Regions from separate parts of the Homo sapiens genome. Here regions 1, 2, 4, 5, 6 and 7 are each linked to region 3. Evidence: promoter capture Hi-C in 16 types of primary human blood cells and fetal thymus (Javierre and others, 2016). All regions are on one chromosome and are shown on one strand. The core of a region is centred on a gene start or on the middle of the fragment in contact, and the rest is flanking DNA. Distances in the headings are between cores, read along the strand shown. Region 1 overlaps STOM (stomatin). Region 2 has its middle 16 kb from the start of RAB14. Region 3 holds the start of CDK5RAP2 (CDK5 regulatory subunit associated protein 2). Region 4 overlaps LOC102723324 (a long non-coding RNA gene). Region 5 overlaps LOC102723324 (a long non-coding RNA gene). Region 6 overlaps STOM (stomatin). Region 7 overlaps GSN (gelsolin).

The links. Contacts are between HindIII fragments. The CHiCAGO score rates a contact against its expected background, and 5 or more counts as called.
Region 1: a fragment that was not itself captured here is called in contact with the fragment with the promoter of CDK5RAP2 in region 3 in 1 of 17 cell types (naive CD8 T cells); the score reaches 5.3 in naive CD8 T cells.
Region 2: a contact is called between a fragment that was not itself captured here and the fragment with the promoter of CDK5RAP2 in region 3, in 4 of 17 cell types (non-activated CD4 T cells, naive CD4 T cells, total CD8 T cells and 1 more). The highest score is 7.3, in non-activated CD4 T cells.
Region 4: a contact is called between a fragment that was not itself captured here and the fragment with the promoter of CDK5RAP2 in region 3, in 8 of 17 cell types (naive CD4 T cells, activated CD4 T cells, naive CD8 T cells and 5 more). The highest score is 8.2, in naive CD4 T cells.
Region 5: a fragment that was not itself captured here is called in contact with the fragment with the promoter of CDK5RAP2 in region 3 in 3 of 17 cell types (total CD4 T cells, activated CD4 T cells and total B cells); the score reaches 7.5 in total CD4 T cells.
Region 6: a contact is called between a fragment that was not itself captured here and the fragment with the promoter of CDK5RAP2 in region 3, in 3 of 17 cell types (activated CD4 T cells, naive CD4 T cells and total CD4 T cells). The highest score is 6.5, in activated CD4 T cells.
Region 7: a fragment that was not itself captured here is called in contact with the fragment with the promoter of CDK5RAP2 in region 3 in 1 of 17 cell types (activated CD4 T cells); the score reaches 6.0 in activated CD4 T cells.

Annotation. Positions count from the first base shown.
Region 1 is chr9:121,342,870-121,345,569 of GRCh38, reverse strand. All of the region lies in intron 6 of STOM (stomatin), which reads left to right. Among named protein-coding and RNA genes, the nearest start is that of STOM, 26 kb to the left of the region's middle. The HindIII fragment of the contact is 9,319 bases long and covers 1-2,700 here.
Region 2 is chr9:121,216,705-121,219,404 of GRCh38, reverse strand. It overlaps a transcript of GSN not described here. Among named protein-coding and RNA genes, the nearest start is that of RAB14, 16 kb to the right of the region's middle. The HindIII fragment of the contact is 416 bases long and covers 1,076-1,491 here.
Region 3 is chr9:120,578,868-120,581,567 of GRCh38, reverse strand. CDK5RAP2 (CDK5 regulatory subunit associated protein 2) reads left to right here and starts at 1,401. Exons shown (of 38, transcript NM_018249.6): 1 at 1,401-1,648. The coding sequence starts at 1,590. RefSeq lists enhancers at 1,184-1,313, 1,167-1,729. The HindIII fragment of the contact is 6,111 bases long and covers 1-2,700 here.
Region 4 is chr9:121,399,669-121,402,368 of GRCh38, reverse strand. The region is part of intron 3 of LOC102723324 (a long non-coding RNA gene); the gene reads right to left. Among named protein-coding and RNA genes, the nearest start is that of STOM, 31 kb to the right of the region's middle. The HindIII fragment of the contact is 831 bases long and covers 971-1,801 here.
Region 5 is chr9:121,381,855-121,384,554 of GRCh38, reverse strand. The region is part of intron 2 of LOC102723324 (a long non-coding RNA gene); the gene reads right to left. Among named protein-coding and RNA genes, the nearest start is that of STOM, 13 kb to the right of the region's middle. The HindIII fragment of the contact is 3,623 bases long and covers 1-2,700 here.
Region 6 is chr9:121,360,727-121,363,426 of GRCh38, reverse strand. The region is part of intron 1 of STOM (stomatin); the gene reads left to right. Among named protein-coding and RNA genes, the nearest start is that of STOM, 8.2 kb to the left of the region's middle. The HindIII fragment of the contact is 5,018 bases long and covers 1-2,700 here.
Region 7 is chr9:121,268,939-121,271,638 of GRCh38, reverse strand. The region is part of intron 1 of GSN (gelsolin); the gene reads right to left. Among named protein-coding and RNA genes, the nearest start is that of GSN, 2.1 kb to the right of the region's middle. The HindIII fragment of the contact is 3,100 bases long and covers 1-2,700 here.

The DNA.
Region 1 (2,700 bases), core at 169-2,668, 760 kb before region 3:
ACCCTGCAACAACCATAGGCTTATTGTATTGAAATTCTCATGGAAAATAGGGGGGTCACAGTTTCTTCAACAAATAAATTGCACAGGAAAGGTGAGATAGAGTGGAATAATCTAAAGATTAAGAGACTTTATAGAAAAATTCCTTAGGCTAATTAGCCATCGGGGAAATGCAAATTCACATTATAAGCGGATGTCACACTAGACAGCTATCAGAATGGCCTGAAAAGAACGGAAAAGAACCAAGTGTGGGTGAGAGAGGAACTAGAACTCTCATATTCTGCTGGTGGCAGTGTAACTTAATACAACCACTGTGGAAAACAGTCTGGCAATGTCTATTCATACTGAACATTTGTATACCCTATGAGCCAGCAGCTCCAACTCCTAAGTATGAATCTAACAGAAATGCACTCATATGTTTACCAAAAGGCATGTACTAGAATGTTCACAGCAGCACATTGACCCAAACTGTAGAATACCCAAATGTCCATTCCTAGCTGAATGAATGAAGTCTGGTTTATTCACATGTAGGCATACTACATAGCAAAGAGAATGAATGTAAGTGCTCACACACATAATTTGAGTGAAAGAAGCCGGTCACAGAAGAGGACAGATTCTCCTACGTGTTTCTCTGTATGTTAGGTTTGGTTTTTAAAGTGTTTAGACCAGCTCTTAGTGGCCTGAAATGTAATATCTTTTGTGTTTGCATCAGCTTTTATTTCCTTTTCATAACTCTCAGAAAAACACCTGGCACATGCTTTTGGGCTCATGTTTCTGGGTGTAGAAGTCTATTAATTGAGAGGATGGAGTGCAGAAATACAGATCACCTTTCTCTGCCTTTTCCTCTGCCCAGACCACCTGGTCTGCAGAAGGGACAGGTAGCACCAATTTCACATACATGAAAATGCCAGACTTTAAAATGATGTTCTATAAATATGAAATGTTGATTGCTATGAGATTACTGCACATTCGACAAAAGCCGTGCACACCCACAAATAGCTTGCTTTGCTCTCTAAGATCCTATCAACGGAGTGTACTTGGCCTGTATTTAGACAAAGCCGGTGGTGTTGTTTACATCTTTGGCAGCTTGCTCAGTGTGGCTTTTCTATGAACAAAATGTGTGCCCAGCCCGGTGGGTCTGGCTTCTCAGCCAAGCGATTGTGTATTGATTGGTGGTGGGAAATGAGATATCTTTTCAGTTGGTCCATGTCCAAAGAAAAAAGTGCCTAATTGGACATCTGAGATGATATGGAAAAAATGAGAGCCTGCTGCTCTCATAGCAGGGGATTTCTGATGTATTCTCTGTAGTGCCTACCTTGGAATACAGTTCTGTGGTTTTCTTTGAGCAAAGCTGGCACTTGTCCCTTCTCACAGACCTAGGCAGGACATGATGTGTGGCTTTGATAAATTAAGGTTTTTATCCTATAAGCTGGATCCTTTCTCTCAGTGAGTACTATATTCTGTATCCTATCTCCATTAATGGCACTAATCTATGCAACCAAAACCTGGAAACCTGGGTCTCAGCCTGTGTCCCCCTTTCCTCCTCCTACCTAGTCTCCAAATTCCACTGATTCGCCCTCCTTCGGGGAGGGAGAATAGCTCCCCAAACCATTTCATTCTCTGTCCCCACCACCTATGAATCGCACCGGCCACTCTAAAGCAGTTCCACTAGCAGCTTTCACTGCCTTCTCTTCTAACCTCAGACATCTGTCAGAGAGCTTTTTCAAACTAGATCTGATGGAGTTTACTTACCTGCTTAAAATCATTCTGCAGCTTCCCATTGCCTACAGAATGAAGACCAAACACCCTGGCCCTCACTGCCCTTCAGAACCCGGCCCCATTCATCCCCCACCTTTCCCCTCTTCCTGCCATAGTATTCAGCCATTGACAGTTTTCTGGAATATACCATTTTTATACCTCAGTACCGTTTCATGTGTTCTGCCCAAAATATTCTTCCTCATCTTTTTCTAAACAGCAAACATTTTATCATTTAATATTCAACTTCTATAACCTCACCACGTCACCCTCTGGAAAAGTTGCTTTCTTCTGTTTGCTTGCACTGTGCCTTGTACATATGTCTGTCAGCATTTATCACACTAGAATGAAATGATCTACTTCCATGTCTGCCTTCCCTACCTGACCAGGAGCTGAAGAAGGCTAGGGATTCCACTCTATCCTTAGCTTTTCCTACACAGGGCTTATTAACCCTAGAAGGCCCCCAAATTTTGCTGTGTGAGTGAATGAAATCTCACTGGGCATAAGACCATCACCTCCAATTCTGATATTCATGGAGTATTATGGACCATTAATTATTCAAGATTCAAGTGAGGATAATAACCTGGAGAAATTGTACTTTTAATCTTGATAATTATGGTGTCTTAATACCTTTCCTTCTTCTAGGATTATGAATTAAAGTAACTACCTTGAATCTTTTGTGCATTAAAGCATAGTTGGACCCAAAAATCAGGTCTTGTCACTTGCCATTCCTCTATAATAGCCCCCTTTATTCATTTAACACTTTATATACTTTCTCTGTCTTCCTCACAAGTGGTCCTCTGAAGTACATGTTAGTCTGCTTTAAGAATGGGAAACTGAGGTTCAGGATGTTCAGTAACCTCTCTGAGGACATTCGGCTGGTAAATGTTAGATTTGGGATTTGAACTCAAGTCCATTTGACTCCAGAACTCCTGTTCTGTCTACTAC
Region 2 (2,700 bases), core at 34-2,533, 640 kb before region 3:
CTTAACTTGGTGGTGTGCTGTGGCTCCCCTCTGTAATCCCACACCTTGGGAAGCCAAGGCAGGAGGATCACTTGAGCCTAGGAGTTCAAGACCAGCCTGGGCAACATGGTGAGACTAGTCTCTATTTAAAAAAAAAAAAAAAAAATCCCCTAACTTGAACCTTCTGGTATTTGGTGTGTTTTGGGGAACTGAGTCAGGAGACCGGGTAAAGAGAAGCAGCAAGCGCAGCAGCAGCAGACACAGAGCCCTGGCAGAACTGCCCGGCCAGAGGAGTTGGCCCCCACCAGGTGGATCTGTCCATCAAGGAAGCATCCTCAGGACTCTGAGAAACATCAAGGAAGTGAAACTGAATAAAGATATTGGACTTCAGGTGTCATGCAGGATGGATGCTTGGACAAAACTGGTAGGGTAACCTCCAAATACCAGATCATTTCAGGACCCTGGGAGATGAATATTATTGTCCTCCATTTTACATACAAGAAAAATGAAACTTGTGAAAGTTGCCAGTACCAAAATGGAGTCACTTAGGCTAAACTCTCACAAAATGGAGAGGGGAGGCCATGAAGGAAGGGTCCTCATGCATGTATGCCTACAACAGAAACTATCCAAGAAATTCCACATAAGCCACCTGGCTTGCACAGGGACATTTGTCCAACAGTGGCTGTCTCCACCAATAAGCTAATGCCAACTCCTGCAACAAGCTCCTGTAACCAATGGTCTTTTTTTCAAATTAGCTTACATGTACGTTTCCTCCTTTCTTTATTTTTTTTGAGACAGAGACTCACTCTGTTACCTAGGCTGGAGTGCAGTGGTGCGTTATCGGCTTACTGCAACCTCCGCCTCCCGAGTTCAAGTGATTCTCGTGACTCAGCCTCCTGAGTAGCTGCAATTATGGGTACACGTCATGATGCCTGGTTCATTTTTGTATTTTTAGTAGTTACAGGGTTTTGCCATATTGGCCAGGCTGGTCTTGAACCCCTGACCTCCAGTGATCCACCTGCCTCAGCCTCCCAAAGCACTGGGATTACAGGCATGAGCCACCGAGCCTGGCCTCTCGTCCTTTCTCTTAAAAGCTTCCTCTTGCCCCATCCCCTTTGGTGCACCTGTGGTCCACCACAGCATGTGCACCCAAAATCGCAATTCCCTGTTATTCTCAAATAAACTCTTTGTTTTGGAGAACTGGTCTCTCTGCTGTTTATTTCAGGTTGACAGACCTAAAATATAATACAATATTAAATGACTGCCAGACAATTCATAGCAGACCTATACTCCATGACCACCCTTCTTAAGAGCTCAACAAATGTTCTGAACATGCTTAGTCATAGCTAAACTGTGAGTCAGGGCATGAGGTAGACTGGACACATACATAAAAAGAATGAATAAGATCAGGATATGCAAAACAATATGGACAATTTGATCGTACTTATGTAAAAGAGAAAACACACACCAAAGTTATATCTTTATGTATGTACCCTTATATACGCAAAAGCTTGAAACAGACCTGGTAGCAGTATTAACGGTTGGGTAGAAAAGAGCAGAGAAAGGAGGGCTTGTTTTGTTTGAGGTTATAATAATAATAATAATAATAATAATAATAATAATAATACATTTCTATATTATTTGAAATATTTAAAAATTTAATTAAATTTAAAAAATTTAAAGAAATGGCTGTTGTGGGCTGAATTGTGCCACTCAGCCACATCCCAATTGAATTGAAGTCCTAACCCCCAGTACCTCAGAATGTGACTGTATTTAGAGACAGGGTCTTTAATGAGGTAATTAAATTAAAATGAGGTCACTAGGGTGGGCCCTAATCCAATATGAATGGTATCTTTATAAGAAAAGGAGATTAGGGGCCTATTGGAGGGTTTAGGTTGGGAGGAGGGAGTGGCTCAGGAAAAAGAACTAATGGGTACTAGGCTTAATACCTGGGTGACAAAATAATCTGTACAACAAACCCCCAGGACAGAAGTTTGCTTCTGTAACAAATCTGCACAGGTACTCCTGAACTTAAAATAAAAGTTATTTTTTTTTTTTTTGAGACGGAGTTTTGCCCTGTTGCCCAGGCTGGAGTGCAATGGTGCGATCTTGGCTCACTGCAATCTCCGCCTCCCAGGTTCAAATGATTCTCCTGCCTCAGCCTCCTGAGTAGCTGGGATTACAGGTGCCCACCACCACACCCAGCTAATTTTTTTTTGTATTTTTAGTAGAAACAGGGTTTCACCATGTTGGCCAGGCTGGTCTCGTGATCCACCCTGACCTTGTGATCCACCCGCCTTGGCCTCACAAAGTGCTGGGATTATAGGCGTGAGCCAATGTGCCCAGCCAAAGTTGAATTTTAAAAAAGAAATCTCCTTAAGTTAGAAAAATACTTTAAAAATCTAAATAAAGTGGAAGACAAAACCCAGAACTAAAAAAAGAAGAGGAAATTAGGATGCAGACACAAACAGAGGGAAGACCATGTGAAGACACAGGAAGAAGACAGTCATCCACAAGCCAAGGAAGAAACCAACCCTCAGAAGAATGCAACGCTTGGACATCTTGATCTTGGACTTGTAGCCTCCAGAATAAAATAATTTTCTGTTGTTTAAGCCACTGAGCCTGTACTATTTGTTACGGCAGTCCTAGCAAACTAATACAATGACCAAGGTAAAATTCCTGTCTTCCAGGAACTCCTAGCCTAGTGGGAGAAGTGGGTAA
Region 3 (2,700 bases), core at 152-2,651:
TAGGAATACAAGAAGTGGCTTGATTTAGATTAAATGACTAGGGAAGGCTTCTTTTGAAAAGTATCAATAATTGGTTAATTACTTAACTGAAGAATGAGGGCCTGGTGCAGTGGCTCAGGCCTATAACCCCAGCACTTTGGGAGGCCAAGGTGGGAGGATTGCTTGAGGCCAGGAGTTCAAGACCAGCCTGGGCAACATAGTGAGACCCTGTCTCTATTTAAAAAAAAAAAAAAAAGAATGAGGAAACAGGGTGAAAGGGGAATTGTTCAAGATTACTGGGAAAGTCACTATCTATCCACTCACCAACCATTTCAAGTTATTTTCATCGGGCTCTCTCACAAGGGCCTGCAGAGGAAGGAGCAACACTGAGTTGAGGAGGGGAAGGTTAATTTCATTGCTTAAGCTCTGCCAAGATTATCTAAGTGTTTGGTGATTGCTATGTGCTTTAAGAAAGGCAGCCAAGGGGCCGGTGCTGTGGCTCACGCCTGTAATCCCAGCAGTTTGGAAGGCCGGGGTGGGCAGATCACGAGGTCAGGAGATTGAGACCATCCTGGCCAACATGGTGAAACCCCGTCTCTACTAAACATACAAAAATTACCCGGGTGTGGTGGCGCAAGGCCGAGGCAGAAGAATCGCTTAAACCCAGAAGGTGAAGGTTGCAGTGAGCTGAGATCGGGCCACTGCACTCCAGCCTGGCGACAGAGGCACCATTTCAAAAAAAAAAAAAAAGAAAGGCAGCCAGGGTTATGCAGAGAGCCCTCATCTAGTTGGCAGGAGCTGCAGACCCCCACTCCAGTTGAAAGACATTGTCAATACTTAATTACTTTGGGAGAGTCCTTTCCTCTTGCTGGCCCTCAGTTTTCTGACCACAGGTGCCTTTGAGTCCTAATGGTAATAAAAGACCAATAGGTGAGAGACTGGAGTGGGAGTGCTGTTGACCACTGGCTCATGGGAATGAGTTATTTGCTTCAAACTAAGTCTGCAAATTACTGTTTGCCTTGAGATTCCGCACGTAGTATTTTTCCAAAGCAAGGCAGCACTCAGTTATCTGAGTTTCAACTTAAGGTCAAATCCCAAAGTTTTGGGGTCATTATTCTAGAAAAGCAAACACGAGGTTAGGAACTTTGAGGATTCCTGAGTGGCTGTATTCATTTCCATCTCCCGCGTAAATTAACGGACTAGGGCCCGCTTTGGCCCTCAACAAAGATGGCACCCGCCCTCGCCTCTCCCTAAGTGCCCTCACAAAAAATGGCAGCCGGCCTTTTTTTGTCTCTTATTTTTGCTTGGCTTAAGCACGGATGCTTTGCCCTTAGTTAAGATGGCACCTATCCCCGCTTCCCTGCCCGTCCTCTGGCGCCAGCCGGTCGGCTTCACTGCGTGCGCCTCCGTGACCCCGCCTCGTTTCCGTAGGAAGAAGCGCCGGGAAAGATGGCGGCGTCTGTGGTTTGAATTCCAGCGGCGCCGCCAGAGTCTGAACAAGAGCTGGGGTGGAGGGGGCGGGGACCTGGGGAGCCCGGCGGGTCGCTATCGCGGGGGGTACTAGTGGCGCCGCCGCCACAGACACCAACGCTGTCGCCACCTCTGTAGCCATGATGGACTTGGTGTTGGAAGAGGACGTCACCGTCCCTGGGACGCTCAGCGGCTGCAGGTGCGGCCGGGGCATTGGTGGTCGTGGTAACCGGGCCGGGGTTCCAGCTGGTGGGATTTCGTTCTAACGCGGCCTTGGGGTTTGCTCTTGAGGGTGTCTGGCCAGGGGCAGTGTGTGGGGTGGGTTCCTTCGGAGAGGGTCTCTGGGGGGCCCACCACCTGACACTCTGGAGGGCTGGGAGCCGCGACCTGCACCACAATTGCCAGTAGCATTGCGCCATGTACTTTGTAGAGCGTGTGAAGAACAGGTAAGGAGTTTTCTGAAAGAGTAGGACGAGGGTGGGGCCACTTGGAGTATCCCGTTAGTGGGGATTGGTGGAGAACAGGGACCTTGAGGGCACCTGATGGTTCCTTCTGGTTTGAGAGTTTGTTTTCATTATGGAGAGAGTGTAGCCGGTATGCCCAGACTTTGCTTTTTGGGTCACATAGTGGCCACCCAGGAGGCAATGGAGTGCAATGATTAAGAACCTTGGCTAGAGTTGGACAAAACTGGATTCAAATCCAGCCCTGTAAACTGACTAGCTGTGTGACCTTGGTAAAGTGATTTCACCGGCTTTCCCATCTGTAAAATGGGCTAGTAATATCCACCCAACAGAGTTGGGGTGAGGATTAAAAGAGGTGATGCCTGTCGAGCCATTTGCTTGGCAGGTGTAGTGCCTGCCACATAATCAGTGCTTAAAAAATGATCTTGTGTTGCCATTAGTGTCATTATTACTACTGTCATCAAAGGTGATATGAATCAGGGAATAATGGCCAAGAGTGGCCTCCCATGGACCTGCCCCAAGAGACTGTGGGAGTCCCCATTGCTGGTGGAGCTGGGGTCTGGTAGGAAGGCCTAACAGAGCGCAACTCTGCTCCACGGCTGGCCCCTGTGGTTGTCCTAGACTCCTGGTTGGAGAGTGAGTAGAGGGAAGAGGAGGAGAGCCCTGACGGAGAACCTGCACTGTTTATCCAGCTCTACTATGGACAAGCTGCTGCTTTTAGTCAACAGATCCTAATTGAAAGGGTGACCATGTTATTTATTGTGCTAACTGGGACACTTAAGAGTGAAAA
Region 4 (2,700 bases), core at 137-2,636, 820 kb before region 3:
TTGGTGTATAGAAATGTTACTGATTTTTGTATATTGATTTTGTATCTGGAAATTTTGCTGAAGTTGTTTATCAGTTCTAGGAGACTTTTGGCAGTTTTTAGGGTTTTCTATGTATAGATTCCTATCATCAGCAAAGAAGAAGTCAAACTATCTTCTTCTTTTCCTATTTGGATGTCTTTTATTTCTTTCTTTCACCTGATTGCTGTGTCAAGGACTTTCATTACCATGTTGAATAGGAGTGGTGAGAGTGGGCATTCTTGTCTTGTTCCAATTCTCCAGGGGAATGCTTCCAATTTTTGCCCCTTCAGTATGATGTTAGCTGGTTTATCATAGATGGCTCTTATTTTGAGGTATGTTCCTTTGGTGACTATTTTTTAGAGGGCTTTTATCATGATGGGATGTTGAATTTTATAAAAAGCTTTTTCTGTGTCTATTGAGATGATCATATGGTTTTTGTTTTTAATTCTGTTTATGTGGTGAATCACATTTATTGATTTGTGTATGTTGAACCAACCTTGCATCCCAGGAATGAAACCAACTTGATCATGATGAATTAACTTTTTAATGTGCTTCGGATTCAGTTTGCTAGTATTTTGTTGAGGATTTTTGCACATACATTCATCAGAGATATTGGCCTGTAGCTTTCTTTTATCATTATGTCTTTGCCAGATTTTGGTATCAGGGTGATGCTGGCTTTATAGAATGAGTTGGAGAGGAGTCCTTCCTCCTCAAATTTTTTGAATAGTTTCAGTAGAATTGGTACCAGTTCTTCACCACATTAAGAGATTCAAGCAGAAAAAAAGTTACAGTATTTCTACATAGATGCAAAATTTCTAAAGCATTTGATAAAACTTAATATCCATTCAAGATTTTTAAACACTTAAGAAAAAAGAAATAGAATGAAAGTTCTTAATCTAATAAAAAGTATCTGTAGAAAACCAAAGAAAAGTAATGTTTTATGTCAAAAGCTTTTCCTGTAAAGTCAGGAACAATTAAAGGGTGCCTAATATCACCATTTCTATTCTGTGTTGTACTAGAGCTTCTAACTAGTACATGAAGGATAAGAAAAACAAATTAATGGTATAATTATCTACAAATGATAAATTGTATATGTAGGAAAAAGAGATTTATTTGAATTATAAGAGCATTTAGCAAAATCCCTAGATGAATAATCAATATGACAAAAGTAGTTACATTTCCAAACACCAGCCATAATTGTTAGCAAATGATTTTTTAAAGATGCCTTTTTAGCCTAAAAAAATCAAGTATCTACAAATAAGTGTACCAAAAGATATATAAGACTTTTATGTCTATTGAAAGACACTAAGGAAAACTGAAGTAAATCGTGATTGGAAGGCTCAATAGTATAAAAATATCAGTTCACTCTAAAATGATTTAATGATTCAGTTCAATCCCAATAAATATTCCCAGGAGGGTTTTTTTTTTTTTGACAGAATTTGACAGACTGATTTTAAACTTTATGGAAAATTTAAAGGCCAAGACTATCCAAAACATTCTTTTAAAAAATGAGGTGGGAGTTCTTGATGTACTAAATATTAACAATGATTATAAAGTAAAATGATAAAGACAATATGATATTGTCACAGAAATTGACAAATAAATCAATGGAGCATAACCAAGATAGGCAATGACTCACATATAAATGGACACTTCATATATAACAGTAACGGCACTGCAGAGTCCTAAAGAAAAAAAAATAATCTTTTCAGTAAATGGTGCTTTGAAAACAGAACATTCACATGGGAAAAAAATGAAATGTACTCTTTCATCAAAGTAAGCTTCCATGAGTTCAGGGTTCTTTCAGTTTTGTTCACAGCTGTAACCCCAATGCCTAGAAATGTAACTGCAATATAGAAGGTATACATACTCACTCAGTATTTGTGAAGTGAATGAATGAATGAATGAATGAACGAACGAACGAATAAATGACGACTTTGGAAACAGTTCTCAAGTTTTTAATTCATCTGTCTTCTTTTAAACATCTAACTAGGAAAAAAGTACATGAGAGTTACCAGTAGATGGCGCAACATAACAAAGAAAGTAATCAACACATTCTTTCCTTCTGAAAGGAATTGCTTCAAGAAAAGCCTGCTGATGTCACCTGTGCTGTAATAACTCATATTTCACTGACTTATACCCCACTGCACAGATGTTATTCTGTTCTGCTAAGTATTTTAGTTTTTCTTGTACCAGTACAGGTTACCAGTTCCTCCTTCTCCCTTTCCCCACCCTCTCCATCCCTTGGAACTCCCCCAACCTGTATTTAACTGAATCTCCCAATGTACTAAAGCCCTCAGGTTTCCAGAGCTGTGGGGTAGTCCACGGTGAGAAAGAATCTGTCCTCTCTGAGTTACACTCTGTTAAACGGGGTCACAGATTAGTGAAACAGTTCTTTCGTATTTTACTTCCAGCCTCCTTTCTCCGTGGGACCCCAGATTGGATCCATTGGGAGGTAGATTTGAATAGCAACTACCATGCATTATCAAGGATCACCATTTCTTTGCACCACTAAAGGCTCTCTTGCCAGGTCATGGTTATCCCAGAAGGTGTTTCAGTGCTTATGCCGATAAGCTCCTGTCACTAATCTGTCCGCCCATTCATATTAGGCTAGCATGACCAATTTGTCCTGGTTTGCTGGGGACTTTCACAGTTTTAGCATTGGAAGTCTCACATCCCAGG
Region 5 (2,700 bases), core at 45-2,544, 800 kb before region 3:
TGCTATACTCAGCTCATCTGTTCACTACAATGTAGGTCAACTGTCCTTAAACCAAACATAGGTTCCTGAAAACTCTTTCCAAATTAAAATAATGAAGCATTTATGATGTCTTTTTAGGAAAATTTACTTCATCTCCAATTGATAAAGGGAAGTTCTCTTTTAATAGAAGAATGTAGATAATAATTGTAGAAGAAATGATACATCGGAAAAATCACCATTTGCCAATGCCCACTCCTCAGTGAAATAATTGATTCAGGTAATGATCATCAGTGGCTATAAAAATTAGCAAATAAAGCAAATACAGCAAAATGATAGCACCTATCAAATCTAAATGATGGGTAAATTCTTTCAACCTTCCGTATGATTAAAAATTTTTCAATTAAATATTGGGGAAAAAAGTCTCTCAATTTAAGATGAAGTTTTTCCCAGGAGGATCCATGTTACCTTATAAAAAGGGAACTCTGATGACTGACCCACCAGTCATCTAGGCATGCCCAGATATATCTCCCAATGTGAACTTCTAAGGTAAGTACAGCTTAAGTCTGAGCTCAGAACCCTGCCACACTTGAGTCGTAATTTCTACCTTGTCCCTTCCTCTTTCTGATCCTTTCAGCTCTGCTTCCTCCCATCTGTCTTCAGCAAGATCCTTGAAAACACGTATCGGTTTACTATTGCATAAACACAACAGAGTGCAAGCCAGCACCATCCGAGGAGTTTTTCAAAATGTACACGCCCAGAGCCTGACTCTCATATATTTCAATTCATTAAGTCTTGAGTGGGGCCTGGGCACATCATTTTGGAAACTGTATCCAGATAATTCCGATGGACCTCTCTGAAAGAGAACTATTTCTATGAAGTTATCTTTAGGTTTTTACCAAGTGAATCTATACACATAAGAAGAAATTTAGAAATCAAAAAGAGAAATATCAAATTAGGAAACTCAAAAAGTTCAATTTGCTGTGGTAGTTATTTTATTTTATTTTATTTTTGAGACGGAGTCTCGCTCTGTCGCCCAGACTGGAGTGCAGTGGCGCCATCTCTGCCCACTGCAAGCTCCACCTCCCGGGTTCACGCCATTCTCCTGCCTCAGCCTCCTGAGTTTTTGGGACTTCAGGGGCCCACGACCACGCCTGCCTAATTTTTTTTGTATTTTTAGTAGAGATGGCGTTTTGCCGTGTTAGCCAGGATGGTATCAATCTCCTGACCTCGTGATCCGCCCGCCTCAGCCTCCCAAAGTGCTGGGATTACAGGCGTGAGCCACCGTGCCTGGCCGCTGTGGTAGTTATTAATGCTGCTCACTTATGTCTAATTCTCCTCTCTTTCCTAAAGCCCTTGAAGTTAGACCTGGTCATGCTACTGGCTTTGACCAATGAAATTATAAGCAGCAGTGGCACTTGTCACTTCTAAAAAGAAATATTTAAGAACCAGTGCAGAAGTCACCATTTCCCTTTTTTTCTGCCTTGGCCATGATAAAACATACGGCAAATGGAGCATCCCTCAGCCTAGATTCCTGGGTGACTATAATGAAAGAAGTCTCCCAGTCAAGCCACATAGGACATAAAATGGAAATGAGAAATAAACTTGTTTGTGATAAACTAAGGATATATAAAAGTTGTTCATTAATGCAGCAAACCTAGCCTAACCTGACTGATAAACTGGCAAATCTGTTTTTTCACAGAGGTAAAGCCATTTAGGAGAATCAGTTCTCTCTTCACCAATGACTAAAAATTTACACAGAGAGAGTTGAGTAAAGGAAAAGAAGGGAACTTCAGGGCCAGGGAGACTTAAGTTTAAATCCATGTTGTCACCTATTTGTAATAATAAAAAGAATATACAATGACTGTGTAATATACAATTACTTTTAATAACCACTAACATTTATGAAGTACTCACTCTGTACCAGCCACTGTGCTGAGCACTTTACATGAATTATTTCACTTAGTCTTTCATTTTACAGATGAGAAAAATGACATTAAAGGAGTTAGATAACTTGCCTAAGGTCACAGATTTAGGAAATGGTGGAACAAGAATACTAACACAGGGAATTAGGCCACAAAGACTGTGCATTTAACTATTACTCTGTACTGCCTTCCTGTGTGACTTTGACCAAATTAGTTGATCTCTTTGAACCTTAGTTCCCTCAATTTAGAAGAGGGCTGAGAACTATAATGCAGACTTTTTGCAAAGATTAAAGGAGATAATTATATAAAGCTATTAATATGATTACTGGCATCTAGTAGACCAGGCAGTCTATTATTTTATGGACATGGTAGCCATTATTTTATAGTAGCTAATATTTCACTCATTCACCTCTTCTCTATAAACAGAGAATAGTCAATATAAAGAAAGGTAAAACATGAATGTAACTTGTAAAGGTAACTTGTCATGGCTTATGGGAATTTAGTACTGTAAAATGATAGGTAACACAAATACAATAATCAAACCTTACATTACAATGCTTGCATTACTTAATGGCCAATATTGAACTGACCATTGCTGACTTCTCAAAACAGGTTTTTTTTGTTTTGGTTTGGTTTGTTTTTTTTTGAATTGGAGTCTCATTCTGTCACCCAGGCTGGAGTGCAGTGGCATGCTCTCAGCTACCTGCAACCTCTGCCTCCCGGATTCAAGCAATTCTCCTGCCTCAGCCTTTCGAGTAGCTGGGATTACAGGCACATGCCACCATGCCTGGCTAATTTT
Region 6 (2,700 bases), core at 154-2,653, 780 kb before region 3:
CACTGATGAAGAATCATAGTGGCCAAAAGTAACACTTAATCCTGAATACATATGTTTTTAAGAAGAAAGTTCAAAAATTGCCAAGACTTTTCAATTTGGCCTACTGTTACCCCTAAAAAGTGCTGCTGCAACTGAATAGCATGTGTTTTTGAGACTAAACTTCCAGCCTTTCTGTCTTGCCCCATCCAGGCAGGACTGCTCTCATCAATTTACAACATGAAGTGTTTTATTTGCACTCTGTGAAGGCAGAAGGAAAAAAGTGTCCGTTAAAAAGTGGCAGTTTAGGTATTTCAGTAATTCCTTAGCCCATCCTTTCTTATTGTGTAGGATAATGCTTATGACTCACAGTCAGATTCTCAGCAGAGGAAATCCAGTTATCTGTTGAACTTTACAATAATAAAATCTCAGTGATGAGTGGATTTATTACTCCACATGATTTCCAGTAGTGCTAAGGTTAATAGATCTGAAAGTAAATCAGCTGATGGGGAACGGGGACAACTACAGCCCTCTGGACTAATCAGCCTGTGTTGTCATCTTGGAAAGAATGTTTAACTGCCTTTCCAGAAACTTACCCAACAAAAATTACTACACAACAAATTTCATTTGTTTCATGGTTTGCTTGGTTTTCTTTTGTTTCTTCCTACAAGGTCTTTAGCCTTATTACTTTAGAACTTCAGGAGGCATATTTTAACACCTACTTCACAGATTTTTGTAAACATTATAAATACTCATGTATGTAAGGAGGAGCTACATGTGGCTAACATGTCATAGGAATTCATAAATGGTAGTTATTAGGAGTAGTAACAAAAGATACCTTCAGAATGAGAGAATTTTAAGAGTTGTATAATTTCATCTTTTCAGAAAAATTAACTTACACAGGAAATAAGCAGGTACAGAAACACTGCTAAATATATATTCAATGCAGCAGTTTCTAAGTGAGAAATTTGGACACAACAGATTTCATCATATAAAATGGAATTAATTAATTAATCTTTAATAATGATAAAGAATATGTGCTGATATGAAAAAATGTTCATAACATGGATGGGAGGGAGAAGATTTTAAATCACTGTGTATACCATTCTTTCATTATTGAAAAAATACAGGCTAGAAAAGGTTTAAAAGACGTATATCAAGGCAAAAAACATCCAGAGATAAAGTATAGATAATGTTTCTGTTTGTTGAGCTATCATTTCTAATTTTTATAGTAACTTTTGCTTTTAAAGTAAAAAAGCAATTTTAGAAAATGTATGTGAGTTTCCTGGAGGTAAGCCCAACTTGAATGTTCAATACAAAAATTCAAATGTACAGGCTTATGTCCATATTCAGACCCTTCTTTGATTAGTTAAAAGTTTATTCTACTGCCATTTTGGTAATAAAAGAAAAAAAAATACTCTAAACCAGGAGTCCCCAACTCCCAGGCCACAGACGGATCAGATCAGCAACATTAGATTCTCATAAGAGCACAAACCCTATTGTGAACTGCACATATGAGGGATCTAGGTTGTGTATTCCTTATGAGAACCTAATGTCTGATGATCTGTGGTGGAACAGTTTCATCCCAAAACCATGTTCCCCAACCCTTTCCTGTGGAAAAATTGTCTTCCACGAAACTGGTCCCTGGTGCCAAAAAGGTTGGGGACCATTGCTCTAAACTATGGCAAAGTAGTATTTACAACCAAGTATCATAGGATCCCTAATTTTTAGGAACATTCTCAACCAGCAAAATACCCACAAGTGGCCGGGTGCATTGGCTCACGCCTGTAATCCCAGCACTTTGGGAGGCCGAGGCCGGAGGATCACGAGGTCAGGAGATCAAGACCATCCTGGCTAACACGGTGAAACTCCGTCTCTACTAAAAATACAAAAAATTAGCCAGGCATGGTGGTGGGCACCTGTAGTCCCAGCTACTGGGGAGGCTGAGGCAAGAGAATGGCGTGAACCCAGGGGGCAGAGCTTGCAGTGAGCCGAGATCTCGCCACTGCACTCCAGCCTGGGCGACAGAGTGAGATTACATCTAAAAAAAAAAAAAAAAAAAAAAAAAAAGTCCACAAGTGTATTAACCAAAATATCACTATTTGTCCCTTTCCCCATAAAACTGGTAGGAAGGATTCAGTCCTAAAGTAATACATGGGAAACTTGAAGGAAATGAATTTCCTGAGATTTTAGTGAGTGAGAATTTCTTTTCTCTTATTCCCAGAAGTGGTAGATGACTAAGGGTTCATTTATAAGCCTGCTAGAGTTTAAGCCTCACCTCTGAGCTATGCATTTATAGCACAACATGCTATAAATAGACACAGCTGGAATTAAGAGGGCTTCCTCTGTAAAAACATCAGATTTCAGTCTCAGAACTCTAGTGATGCATTCCCAACTTAGATACTGTGTACCTTTTTGAGGGGTAACCAGGTGGGGAAGAATTTTGAGAGGTGAAGGTAGGATACTTTCATTTTAAAGTCATTAGAAAAATATGAAAGTGCCATTTTCCCAGTGTATACACTGATTATTTCTAGCCAAGCATTTGATATGTGAAAGACCAAATCCAGTTTTCAAAATGTGTACTTAATTCCTTGTTCCTGGTGATTTGCAATCCCATATACACATCTGGGGTTCTCAAAAACACAATGTGACATGGGAACTGACACAAAAAAAACTGGGCTGAACTTTTTGGCTTGTCCTCATGTAGATCATAAATGAACTTTT
Region 7 (2,700 bases), core at 34-2,533, 690 kb before region 3:
ACCAGTTCTCCTAATACCAGGACTAGAAAGAATTTTCAAGAGAATGTTTAGTGCTGTCATTAATAGCTATGGCTCTGTCGTCAGACCTCTGGAATCCTTGCACCATCACCCAATAGCCACACAACCCGGGGCATGTTATTCAGCCTCGGACTCAGTTTCCTCATCTGTAAAAGAAGATACTAGTATCTACCTCAGAGGAATGGTTGCAAGGAATCAATAAAGTAATTAATGTTCCAGTGCTTGGTATATTAAAAGATAGCTTTTTTTGTCTTTTCTTTTTTTGTTTTGAGACAGTATTGTTCTGTCATCCAGGCTGGAGTGCAGTGGCGTGATTTCAGCTTACTGTAACCTCCGTCTCCAGGGTTTAAGCAATTCTCATACCTCAGCCTCCCAAGTAGCTAGGATTACAGGAGCATCCCAGCACGTATTTTCAGTAGAGACAGGGTTTCACCATGTTGACCAGGCTGGTCTCAAACTCCTGGCTTAAGCCATCAACCCAACTCGGCCTCCCAAAATGCTGGAACTGCAGGTGTGAGCCACCATGCCCAGTTAAAAGATAGCTTTTTATTATTATCATGCAAACCAACATCTCTCCATTTTACACATGAGGAACCAGAGGCTCAGAGAGATAGGATTTGCCCAAGGTCACCCAAAGAACCAAGACTGGGGGTCCATTTCCAAGTCAGTGCTTCTAACTTCTCTCACACCTGTGGTCTCTGATAAGCAAATATACACACCCAGAGGCCGCAGACACAGGATGTAAAAGTTTTCTTAAAGAAAACCAGAGCTCAGTGTCTCAGCAACGTACCATAGACCAAGCAGAAATCATCTCTATGACCCACATCACAAATGACCCAAACTATTCACATGGAGTAGGGGAAAGTGACCCACTGTCACTGGATGGCTAAAAGTGAAGGCATCCAATCAACGTGTTTGGCAGGAGTGCACACACCATTGTTAACAGTGGCGACCTCTGGGGAAAGAGGCGGGCTTGGAGGGATTCTTTAACAATTTTTGTTTGTTTTAAAACTCATGAAAAAGAAAAAAAAGTTACAATGCTGAATACCTTAGCAACCTTCTCCAGTAGGTCTAGCCTGTTGTCTGCTTTTAGATGAAATTTATAGCAGGTTCTGAGACCTTCAGCTGGGCTTCCAGAATCTGCTGCTCTGACCCATCCCAGTGGCCACTGCTCTAGTTCAGACCTGCAATCTACTTCACTTGAATCATGCAACAGCCTCCTCAGGGCCTTCCTGCCTCCAGATCAGCCTCGTTCAATGCATCCCCTACATCAGCCATTCAGAATAACGAGTTTTTAAAAATCACTGCTCTGTCAAAACCCTTTCTCAGCTCTTCATTGCCTTCAGGATGAGGTCCAAACCCTTAGCTTATAATCTAGTTCCATTTTCATTTAGATTCTCAACCTCCCACCACCCCGCCCTTCTCCCATCCTCCACTCTAGCCACATGGATGGCTCAGAAAATCTCAGTGCCTTTGCACTAGTGGTTCCTGCTTCCCAGAATGTCTTTTCCCCCAACTCCTGTTTCTCCTGGTAAATGATTATTCATTCTGAGGTCTGGCTCACCTAGACAAAATTAGTCACTCCTCTTGCAGGCTGAAGTCACTCTTAATATGGCACAAAAGTGTCAAACAGTATAGATGGCAAGCATCTTGAGGACAGAGAGCTCTGTCCTCTTCCAAGGCTCTTTGGCCCCTCGCAGGGCAAGGCACAGAACACAGGCCCAGAGAAGTGCTGAAAGGAGGGAGGCGGGGAGGAAGGAAATGCCATGCGGGGCAAACCCTGCAGCCACCCCTCCTGGGAGCAGCCTGTTTCCAGGCTCATGTTAGTCCCTAATAAAAGGACTGTGGAAAATTCTGGAGTAAACTTTCCTCCCCTGATTCACACAGAAACCTTCTTTGCTGCTGTGTAACTCACCGAGTGCCAACCCAAGCTCCCCTGGCTGTTTACAATTTCCCTGGCATTTATAAATAGCATGGCCCCAGAAAGAAAAATGGAGTTTCAAAGGAGCTGAAAGCCGACCGTTCCCACCCCCATCCTTCCTCCTCTGTTTCCAAGCCTCTCCCCCTTAACAGCCCCAAGAAACACCAACCAGCACCCCCAAGTGTGTATGTACAGGGAATGCTTGTCCCTTTAGTAAACGGAACACCCAAGAAGGAGGCTAGAGTCCCTCCCAGCAAGGAGTCCGCAAACGGCAGACCGGAATTGGGTCTCAGCCCTACCCTGCCTCACTGTGTGACAATTAGCCCATCATAAACTCTCTGGGTCCTTGACTTTTCTCAACTGTGAAATGGAGGAAATGGAGATGGGGTAAGATTCTAGCAAGCTATGGTCGCTGTAAACGGCAGAGCGGTGAGAGGTCCTGGTGCCCTGGTCAGAAATGTGGTCCTGGGAGAACAGGACACACAGGATTAAGTGTTTGAAAAGTCCCCAGATGCCAAACAAAAGCGAAAGGCACCTCCCCAGAGGCCCCGCCTTCCACAAAGTCCAATTACCCTCAGGACAGCCCAGAATGAGTTCTGGGTGTTTTAAAGCTCCCTTCCATGCTCTGAGGAGGGTGTGAAGACAGGATAAAGCGACAGATGTCTGGGCAGACAAGGAGCTAGGAAGAAAGCCAATGTCTCCTGCTCACCCACACCCCCAGCCCCCAGCCTTCCAAGGACTGGGGCTTCCCCCTGGGCACT